2 separate regions of the Homo sapiens genome follow, and region 1 is linked to region 2. The links are contacts of gene promoters, found by promoter capture Hi-C in blood cells and fetal thymus (Javierre and others, 2016). All regions are on one chromosome and are shown on one strand. Each heading gives the region's core, a stretch centred on a gene start or on the middle of the fragment in contact. The rest is flanking DNA. Distances are from core to core; before and after follow the strand shown.

Region 1 (5,361 bases), core at 1,559-4,058, 150 kb before region 2:
TCTTCTGTATGGATGTAGATTTTCTAATCTTCTTTTCTGTGTAAATCTTACCACTCCACCACAAACAGATGGCAGGAATGTTTTACACAGTACTTTCTTCAGAGTGCAGTGTACATGGTTGCCATTGAACCAACACTGATAGTTCTGCCAGAAGTAGGAACTGATAGAAGTGTTGCAACACAGGACAAACCTGAGCCTCTAGTCCCAAGTTCCCGACCTAGCTGGCAGTGTGGCCTTGAGTTTGCTAAGCTTCCATTTTCTCATCCATAAAATGGGAATAATGGTAGTTCCTGCCACATAAAGGCAGTATGAGGTTGGTATAAAAGCTTTGAAATGAAATAAAACAGGCTTGTGAGATGGGTCAGTTTGGCCAACATTTCCAATTCTACATTTCAGTGTTCAGCATATTAACATGGTTTTAGGTTGTTTTTGTGTTTCCAACTGCATATATCTCATCATTCATGAGCTGCTCAATTAAGAAAGTCTGAGCCACCCCTAAAGATGGCAACATGAAATAAAGCCATCTTTGAAGCACCCAAAATCACAAACAGGGCCTTGCCCAAGGTTAAGTCATGATTCTGCAGGTAAACTATGCACTGCCACAGTATACGGGGACCCCAAACTGGCTGGTGTAAAAGTCATCCTTCTATAATAGAAATGGAGTCCCAATGCTCTAAATCCTATACAAATCACTTGGGGAATCTCTTTAAAATGAAGATTCTGATTTAGTAGGTCTGGAGTGCGGGCTGAGATTCTGCATTTGTAGAATGTGTTTAGTGAAATATTTTGATGCTACCATTCTAAAGACCAATGATAAATACACTGAAACTTTATTAAAAGGTCAGGGTATATAGAAAACAAAAGGCATGTTTGCAAAATTATTTATTTACATCTTAAGCTCACATTAAAATCTTTCTAGGATAGAATGGCTAAGATGAAATATACAAAGCTGATATAAACACAGAACTCATTAATCTTTATCTGAACAGAAACATAGAGATGGCTTTAGATAATCTGTTTTTCCTTCACAAACCAATGTTCCCTTAAGTCATGCCATGATAATGTCTCCCCATTAAGAACTTAACTTGTATTGCCCAAAAAAGCTGAGAAGCAAAAAGCTAACTTTGATTTGTTAAACAGCTATTCATATGCCACAAAACCAAAACTATTTTACAGTGCTGAGAGGTCCAGATAGGTCCAAACATGATGATTTTTAAATGAGTGCTTTGGTTAATTAGGCTTTGACTTGGTTTTTGGCATTACTTGTATAATTATATCATTCCAATGAGTCACTACAGGTAATCCATTCAAAACATGACTTGCTTAATACTATCACAAAGCACTTAGCCTTGCCTTGACTGGAAATACCTTTAAGATGCTGACAATAGCAACAATTTCTCCTTTCCTTCACTCAGCAAAAGAAATCACATAAATCACAAAATAAAAAATTCATTTCTCACATGTTAAAAAAGCAAAGTCTGCCATAAACCCTTAGAGAAGAAACAGTTTCTCATAATATCTGCCCTGGGTAATAGTGCATTATTAAAATACTAGACCTGCAAGATCTCTTCCTATGCCTTGGAAGCCTATGACTTCATGATCTATTCATGAAAAATATGCCGAAGGCTAAATATGCAATGCATTGAAATTTCTGGGAAGAATTCACATTTAAAACAGTTTAAAAAATCTGGATTTAGTAAGAGTTTTAGAAAAATAAATAAAACACTGTGGTTCTACTTCTCCCCTTCTACTCTCCCTTCACAAATCTAAGCTTAAGTGCAGGCTTCTAAAAAGCAGAAGAGAGTACAATAGGATGAGAGAGGTGGGTTTTACTATCCACATTTTCCTTTTCTTAGTGTAACGTATTATCTCAAAGGCAAACTTGATTCCCTTTTCTTGAAACGAAGATCCCATCTTCTGAGACGATCTTAAATAATTGTTCTTAAATCAAAAAGTTTGAAAATCAGTGCTTTTAATAAGCAACTAAATGCCTATAAAATATATAACTTAATATTTTGAAGAATGCTATTGTAAAGTTTGAAACAAGATCTAAACATTTTTAAGTTTACATTTAATGTCTTTAAAAGGTCTTTTAAAAGCTATAAGTTCTATTATAAATTGCCAACTAAATTATAAATTGCCACTCACCTTCTCAAAAATTGTTGCACAAATGCATACATTTAAGGTATCTGTATGGTATTTCTCATATTGATCTTTTTCCCAATCTCATAAGTGGGATAAAATGAGAAATTAAGCACCTAGATGTTGGTTAAATTCATTTGAGCAGCATTTTGATTTTGAATAGAGATTCTAAATGTAGTCTAAACTTTCCAGAAAGTCATATTTACATTCATTGTACATTTTATATACACATAAATACAAATTTATAGGAAATAAACAAATTAACCTACACCTCTCATACTGTAAAAGACAAAAATTAAAAATACAACAACCGTGATCACATGCTAAGGCCAGCTATCTGGGAAATATTATTGTTCAGTTCCAACAGCAATAACTTTGAGTAACTTGACACATATCACATAAATACACTACAGGTACTTAGTTTATTTTTGTCCTTAGCCTAGGCCAATCCACAGTTTTAAGTGAAACAATTTTCTGTGAAAGCTAATGCCATACAAGTAGTCAAACACTTACTAGAAATGTCTGCACCACAGAAGAAAGATCTAAAGAAGGCATAATAGCAGATGTCAAATATTTTGAAGTATAATTATAGGGAAGGATTAAAATTAACTCTTTATCCAGGGGGAACTCAGGGCTTTCTGACAAGAGCTGTGCAAAAATTCAAAGGTTTGCTTCATCAGTGTGAACTCCCAGTCCCACAAAAAACAGTGCCTTGTCAAGGCTCTTGTAGTGAGGCCTCCTGGGTTGACCGGTGAGACTCATAAGCCCCCAAGAAACCCTGAAGTTCCCTGATGGAAATTATTTTGTTGAGATTGAGTTTCTGACATGATGACTTCTTGGGCAGTTTGCTTTCTCTTGTGTTCCTGCCCATAAAGCAGTGCTTGATTTTGCTGTTCACCTTTTGTAAATAGATGGGCTTGGCCCTCCAGGAATATATCAAAGCGAACTTTTCGGATTATTGTCTCATGAAAACAAGCAGGTTGTTGTGATGAACTTGGAAAGTGCCCTGCACCTAGTAAGTCTTCCACCAACTGCTGGCGGAAGTGGCTAGCAGAGATTATAATTGGAAGAAAAAAAAGGTTACCGAATCTAAAATGTTGACTGTTCTATAAAGTTTTGATCTTGAGCATGAGTGGAAAGTCCTATTTGGCACTCCTTGACCTCAGGTGGCATGCCAATGATTATCACAGTAAGAAATTCTTAGAATCAGATTTGAGGTATAGAAGGAATAAGAAACACAGAAAATTTTGACCTATATTAAATAAACTCTTCTATAAGTCAGGTTTTTAACCCTAAAATCAAGGCCTTTTTTCCCCCAGAATATTAAATTTACTAAAAACGTAGAAATAAAAATTCTAGTATGGCTGTAAATATATAAGACAAATAAATGAGGTCACATGGTTTATACATTTCAAATTCTTAGAGAGGCCCTACAGTAGTTCAGGAAGACAGTTTACAGTATTGTTCCCTGAGTTCTTGAGGCAACCTCAAGTAAATTTATGAACTCTAAGATTTGAGAGACAGAAAACCTACATGGTCTGCTTATCCCTCTTTTCTAAGAGTAGCTATTTACTCCAAAGTGGTTTGTTCAGTGCTTTCCCTATAGTTCAACTGCTTTAATTATGTGGCTTTATCCGTTTCTTAGAAGACCAGCTCCCCAAATGAAACTTTTAAGAGAAAGAAGAAAAGGCTGTTTAAAGCAAGTAAGCTTTTAACATTAGTTAAGAGTGCAATTGAGTAAATCAGTTCTAAATCTATAATACAAGAAGAGTGGTAATACTGTCACAGGTGTTAGAAGGTTAGAATTCTACAGATTTGGGTTTGTCTGATGTCAGCGGTTAATAACCACTTAATAAGCCCTGCCTCCTAACCAATTATACTCTACTAATTGTCTACCAATTCAAAGAACCAAAACTATTATAATGACTTTCCAGTATTTAAATATGTAAGAACACCTAAATTTGGTTTTAAAATAAAGTTTATAACAACCATTCTCATCAGATCTCAAACTTCAAATATCTAGATTTTACACATAGATTTGTAATAATTAAAAAAAAAACCAAAACCACAAAAACTCATTCAAAACTGGTATTTTTTAGGTTCTTGAATTTTCATATGTCCACATTCTTGGTGGCTATTAAAATTTTAAAATAAATTCAAATCTTGGGAATAATTTAAGTAGTGAAATATGTGAGTATTTATTTTCAAACTCCCATAAGGGTCTATTTAGAAAAACTAATTATGATAAATGGAAACTCCAGTTGTGTTGCTGGCAGTTTTAGGTTAGGCTTAATTTTAAGTTGAGAACCTACTGAAATGTTCATCTATTTCAGTAAAGTGCACAAATATGAGTGTACCCTTTGGTTTGGCTATGACCTCAAAGGAGGTGTAGAAGTCAATGGCGCTGGTGTCAGATTCCTAACTATATTACTGAGGCTGGCAATCTTCTCCTCCAGGAGGTAATTTTTCTTCTCTGCTGTTTTCTGTCGCTGTTCAGTCACTTCCAGAGCTTTCAACAACTGGGCATTTTCAACATACAAGTCCTTCACCATTGCGTCTGCCTTAGTGTTCTTGCAGAGCTAGAAACAGAACCAGAAACATCTTGACTCCATTTCTGTAACTCTTCTTAAACCTTCAGTTTAAGGTCTGACATAAGGACAGTTGTTTTATAAAGGCAAATCACTTCGTCTAATTATATTCTTTTATTTTACAAAATAGCTTTAACATCAGACTTGGCATCAGGGACACCATTGGAACAAATCTACTTTTTCTAAGCTATTTCTTTGCATGAGATGTTTATGTCAGTTACTAATAGAACAGATTGATATTAGATGGCACCAAAAGTTTTTTTTCTACCTAAATAGGCATTATTTCTGTATTTATTCTTTAAAAATATCAAATACTTTTATAACTTAAATTCCTGAGGTGTCAGGTGTGGACTGTTTAACTCTGCTTGTAACAACAGATACTTGAACTTACCATTCGTAACTACAACCCACTGATTATTTTAAAATTTAGCTCATGTATTATAACAGAGATAAGATTTGGGCAGTTACTTCTCCTGAATTGTCTTTGTTTTTGTTTTGTTTTGCATGGGGCCTTGTCTAGTCTAATCTTTATAGTTAGAATATATGGTCTAGGTTGGGGTGGGAAAACTTGTTAGCAGCCTTGGGATACTTTCATTGTTGTTCTGGTTAATATTTTCCAGTCCCCCTTCCC
Region 2 (5,246 bases), core at 2,126-4,625:
GTGCTTATGTTGGTGGGATTGTATAATGGGGTAGCCACTTTGGAAAACAATTTGGCAGTTCCTCAAAAAATTAAACATAGAGTTACCTATATGACCTAGCAATTTCACTCCTAGTTGTACAATAAAGAGATATGAAAACGTAAGTCCACACAAAAACTTGTATGCAAATATTTATAACAACATTATTTACAATAGACAAAAGGTAGAAACAACCCAAATGTCCACCAACTGATGAGTGGATAAGCACAATGTGGTATATCCATACAAAAAAATATTATTCAGCCACCAAAACGAATGAAGTATTCACTGAGATAGCACATGGATGAACCTTGAAAACACTATACTGAGTTAAAGAAGCCAGACACAAAATGCAACATATTGTTTAATTCATTTATATGAAATGTCCAGAATAGGCAAATGCACAGAGCCAGAAAGTAGATTAGTGATTGCTTAGGGCAGGTGAAGGGAGGAATGGTGAGTGCTAATGGGTATAGGATTTCTCTGGGGGGCTGTGATAAAAATGTTCTAAAGTTATTGTAAATAATAGTGATAGATGCACAACTCTGAGAATATACTAAAATTACTGAGTTGTATACTTTAAAATAGTGAATTTATAGTGTGTGAATTTTATGTCTCATAATGCTTTATTTAAAATAAAAGAAAACACAAGGGGGATGCATACTTTCTTTTCAAGATATCTAGGTCTTCAACACCCAACTGCCTTATTACCAGCAGTTTACCTTCACAGCTGTACAGCAGCTGAGAGGTGGTCAGTCTTATTCCCCATTCCCTGTTTTTCCAGAATAATTTTAGGTGGTCAAATTAATCTGTCTCCAATCAAGATTTATTTTTCTGCTAGTGCAAATAACATTCAACTGTTGGTTTCTGATGTATTTGTACCATCAGCTTTGTCTTAACATTTATACAACATGACATAGGACATGTTCATTTATATAGTTTATCTGTACATTTCTTAGGTCACTTTTCAAAAGTCAGGTTTGTTGAGGTATAATTCATATTCAGTCAAATTCACCTGTGAGTTATATGCATTGGTGGATATTTATAGTAACCACCACCACACTTGAGATGTTGACTATTCCCATCACTCTAAAATGTCCCTTCGCACCCCTTTGTAGTCAACCTCCCCTCCCCACCTCCAGCCCCTGCTATCCCCTGATTTAATCTCTACCCTTAAGACACTTTTCATTTCCTGTTCTGTGTTCTCATGGTTCATCCTGAAATGAATCTCTACCAGCTGGGATCCTGATTTGTATCCCTACGGTGCCCAATGTGGTACCTGGTACCTAAAAGGTGCTCAGTAAATGGGTGCTGAATAAATGAATGCATATTTTGTTTTTCAGGTTCTATCAAATCATATGGGAGACTTTGTTCCCTGATTTCCAGGATGTGCCATTTGAAAGGGGCTATTTATACTGGGAAAGACCTTCTTGCAGAGTCTTATGCAACCTTTCAAAAAATGGGCCATAGTGATTTCCAATTTCAGAGATTTTTGCTGAGCATTTCAAACATATCCCTAGACTTGGGGCTTACAACTTTGTTCATCCAGCAAGTAGATGGAAATATCCTCTCTCAACCTGAGCAAGTAGATGGAAATAGACTCTGGGACCATATGCAGCTGTTCTTCTCTCCTCCAAGCTCTCCTCCCCATCTTTGATCCCTCCATCTCCACTTGGCATGGCCCCAGAGTCCCATCCAGAGCTTCCCTGAACAAGTTCTGGGAGATTCCAGACCACGTTTATGAAGAACTCCAAGGGTAGAGCCGACATCTGCTTGAAGCTTTCTCATCATGCAGGTTGTGGCTCTGTGAAAACCCACCTGCTGCTGGCTCATCAGTCAGGCTTGGATCCCATTGGTCCTTTCTGAGCTAATTCCTCTTCTATCTTGATGTGTGTGAATCAGAAACTGAACATTCCAGCCAGGTGTGGTGACAGAGACCTGTAATCCCAGCACTTTGGGAGGCCGAAGTGGGAGAATTGCTTGAGGCCAGGAGTTTGATAGCAGCCTGGGCAACATAGTGAGATCTCATCTCTATACACACAAGCGTGCGTGCGCGCGCGCACCAGGCATAGTGGTGCATGCTTGTAGTCCCAGCTACTTGGGAGGCTGGAGTGGAAGGATTGCTTGAGTCCAGGAGTTCAAGTGAGTTCAAGTACAGTGAGCTATGATTGCACCACTGCACTCCAGCCTCAGTGACAGGGTAAGACCATGACAAGAAAGAAAGAAAGAAAGAAAGAAAGAAAGAAAGAAAGAAAGAAAGAAAGAAAGAAAGAAAGAAAGAAAGAAAGAGAAAGAAAGAAAGAAAGAAAGAAAGAAAGAAAGAAAGAAAGAAAGGAAGGAAGGAAAGAGAAAGAAACAAAGAAAACAAACATTCCCAGAGCAAGTATAAGAGTATTAACAGGCAGTGAACAAAATCCCCCTTTGCCCTGACAGTTCCATGAAATGAGCTAGTACTCAAAGAAAACTTCCCTTTCTTGAAAAGTGTGGGTATTTTCCCCCAGACCATCTTACTATCCTCAAGCAGATGGGTTTCCACGCACTTTCTGGTGCTGACAGCCCCCTGCTGTGCCCTCTGAACACAGACACTACAAAAAACCCATTTCACCTCTTAAGATTTGCACCTTGCCTCCAAGATGAAGCCTTGATGCTGGCATCCGAATGTATCCAAATAAAACCTAATTCCCTTTCTTCCTCCTTTGTCCCCACACATGCAGGCCGTGGCTTCCCTAGAGTAGCTCTGGTAGACAGTTCCTGCTCCTAGGAGACAGTTGCACAATGTAAACCTGCACCAAGATGTAAACCTGTACCAAGGTCAAAGTTTCAAGGTGTGAACTCCTTGGTACAATGATGAGGTTCTGCTACATGCTGCTACGTAAACAAAATACCGAAAAGGTCTTAATTTTTTGCTACATGGAGTAATTGTGTTCATAACCCCACGTGGACAGACAAATCATTAGTAAATCAAAGGGAGCCAAAGAAATTCTTTCTATAGTAAGGGTGACAGGGTGGGGGGCTGTGAGGATTTTGGGGGTGGATGGGGAATTGGAGACAAGGAGGCTTCAGAAAAAGAGAAAAAGAAAAAAGTGAGGTTTAAGTAGAGGAAAGCTTATATTCTTCATGAAAATCAAAAGCTGTGGCGGTCAAACTTTTGTGTTAGTAGTACCATGGTGAAAACATATTTTACTGCGTTGCGCGCGCCTCACACCCACACACACACAGAAGTATAATGGAAATCAATTTAAAATAAAATGTAGCATAGCTAGCTATAAGCTTAGGACATCTGTGTGTGTGTGTGTGGCCGCGAACAGCCTGACCCGGGCGGAGCGCACCCTCGGGCCGCGTCTCCCCCGCCGTACCAGCCTGCCTGACCGCGCGGAGGAGGAGGGCGGGCGCGGTGCCGCCGGGGCGGGAAGGTCGCGGGCGGCTGCTCCGGACTGCAGCTCCCGCGGCGGTGGCGGCGTATCGGGACACGGCGCGGGATGGACGCGCAGGACTGCCAGGCGGCCGCATCGCCCGAGCCGCCCGGGCCCCCAGCCCGTAGCTGCGTGGCCGCCTGGTGGGACATGGTCGACCGCAACCTGCGGTGAGTACCGCCCGGTCCACCCCTGGCCGGGCCCCGACGGCTCAGGCTGCGCGGGGATGGGGCAGGGGGCCAGGGCGCGGCCGAGGCCGCAATCCCCTCTGCTGGCCCGGGCCCAAGGCCCAGCATTGTGGCTTCCGGGGGACCTCGGCGGCCCCCTGAGAACTCTAGGGCTCTTTGGTTGCCCTTGCTATCCTCAGCCTCAATCCCAACCTGGACCAGCGAGACTCTCAGGTTTGGTATTTCAGGAAGTTATAACTTTTGGGGGCTTCTGAAATACAGATGCCAGGGAGATGGTTGAATTCCTACACCAATCTCTATTATCTGACCATTTTGCTAACATACAAGATGGATCTGAATGACATTAGTAATAGTGACAATAGTAATATATGTTGTAATCTTGGACGGGATCCTCTTAGGTCAAGGGCCTATCTGTGTAGGTGGAAAAGAATCAGAAAATCCGTGCCTAGTTCCCTGAGTGTGAACTCCCTGGCATGTATTTAAAGAAAACACCTCCAGTATGCTAAAGATGTACATAGTGTGTTGAAACCATAACTTGGCATTACCTGTGCCAAGTTCTTATGTTGTTTAAGTCTGAAATGTATCAGTGGGTGTTTCGGGTTTTGTTTCTGTTTTCTTCCTCCCATGGATCCTCGGTTTAAACAGTAATCTTAAATTACCTGAATCCACCTGCAACATATTGTCAGTCTTGTTTGCACTGAAGCCAGGTATTGGTTGGAGATCGTGGACCCAGGACACGTGGGTATTTCATTTAGTTTTGTTGGTGTGGGAAGGTATTGGCATTTTTACTTCCCTCTTTCTATTCCTTTTGTTTAATTTGTGCTGATTAGAAAATATCCAAAAATTACATCCAGACACAGGAGACCTCACTTTGGAGTGCCCAGAGTGATGATGACAAACGGGGATCTTTTCTCTCTCTCTCTCTCTTTTTTTTTTCTTTTTTGAGACAAGGGTTTCACTCTGTTGCCCAGGCTGGAGTGCAGTGGCACAATCTTGGCTCATTCCCAGGGCTCCAGCGATCCTCCCGTCTCAGCCTCCCCAGTAGCTGGGACTACAGGCACCTGCCACCACACTGAGCTGATTTTTGTATTTTGTGTAGATATGGGTTTTCACTACATTGTTCAGGTTGGTCTCAAACTCCTGGAGCTCACAGATTCCACCTGCCTTGGCACCCCAAAGTGTTGGGATTACAGGTGTGAGCCACTGCACCTGGTCTCTTTTCTCTTCTATTCCTTTTTATTCTCATTGCAGACAGCAGAGTGCTGGCAGCTCTGCAGGGGCCCAGTCACCTAGAACCCATGCCTCCCAGCTCTGGGTTGGATCTGAACACGTGGCAGAATGTCCTGATTGCACTTGTCAAACTGCATATTAACAGGACTTCTCTCCCAGATGTGGTGATTCTGGGAACGTTGACATCTAATGTTTTTCACTTTGATGGTCTCTGTGGAATTGATGGCTGATTATTTAACATTTATTTGGCAGTAAAGGGCATTTATTAGGCAGAGAATCAAAGTTGCACATCATACTCATAGAGAATAACCCACTTTGTTGATAATGGAGTGGGAGATAGGGAGTTGGGGACCATCTATTACTTGCCTTACTAATTAGTGAAAAAAGTCTCAAGAGA

The links. Contacts are between HindIII fragments. The CHiCAGO score rates a contact against its expected background, and 5 or more counts as called.
Region 1: a contact is called between a fragment that was not itself captured here and the fragment with the promoter of ABHD12B in region 2, in 1 of 17 cell types (neutrophils). The highest score is 5.1, in neutrophils.

What each region holds. Positions count from the first base shown.
Region 1 is chr14:50,718,952-50,724,312 of GRCh38, forward strand. NIN (ninein) reads right to left here. Exons shown (of 31, transcript NM_020921.4): 31 at 812-4,721. The coding sequence ends at 4,512. Among named protein-coding and RNA genes, the nearest start is that of SAV1, 53 kb to the left of the region's middle. The HindIII fragment of the contact is 2,079 bases long and covers 1,770-3,848 here.
Region 2 is chr14:50,868,678-50,873,923 of GRCh38, forward strand. ABHD12B (abhydrolase domain containing 12B) reads left to right here and starts at 3,376. Exons shown (of 13, transcript NM_001206673.2): 1 at 3,376-3,601. The coding sequence starts at 3,498. The HindIII fragment of the contact is 8,761 bases long and covers 3,287-5,246 here.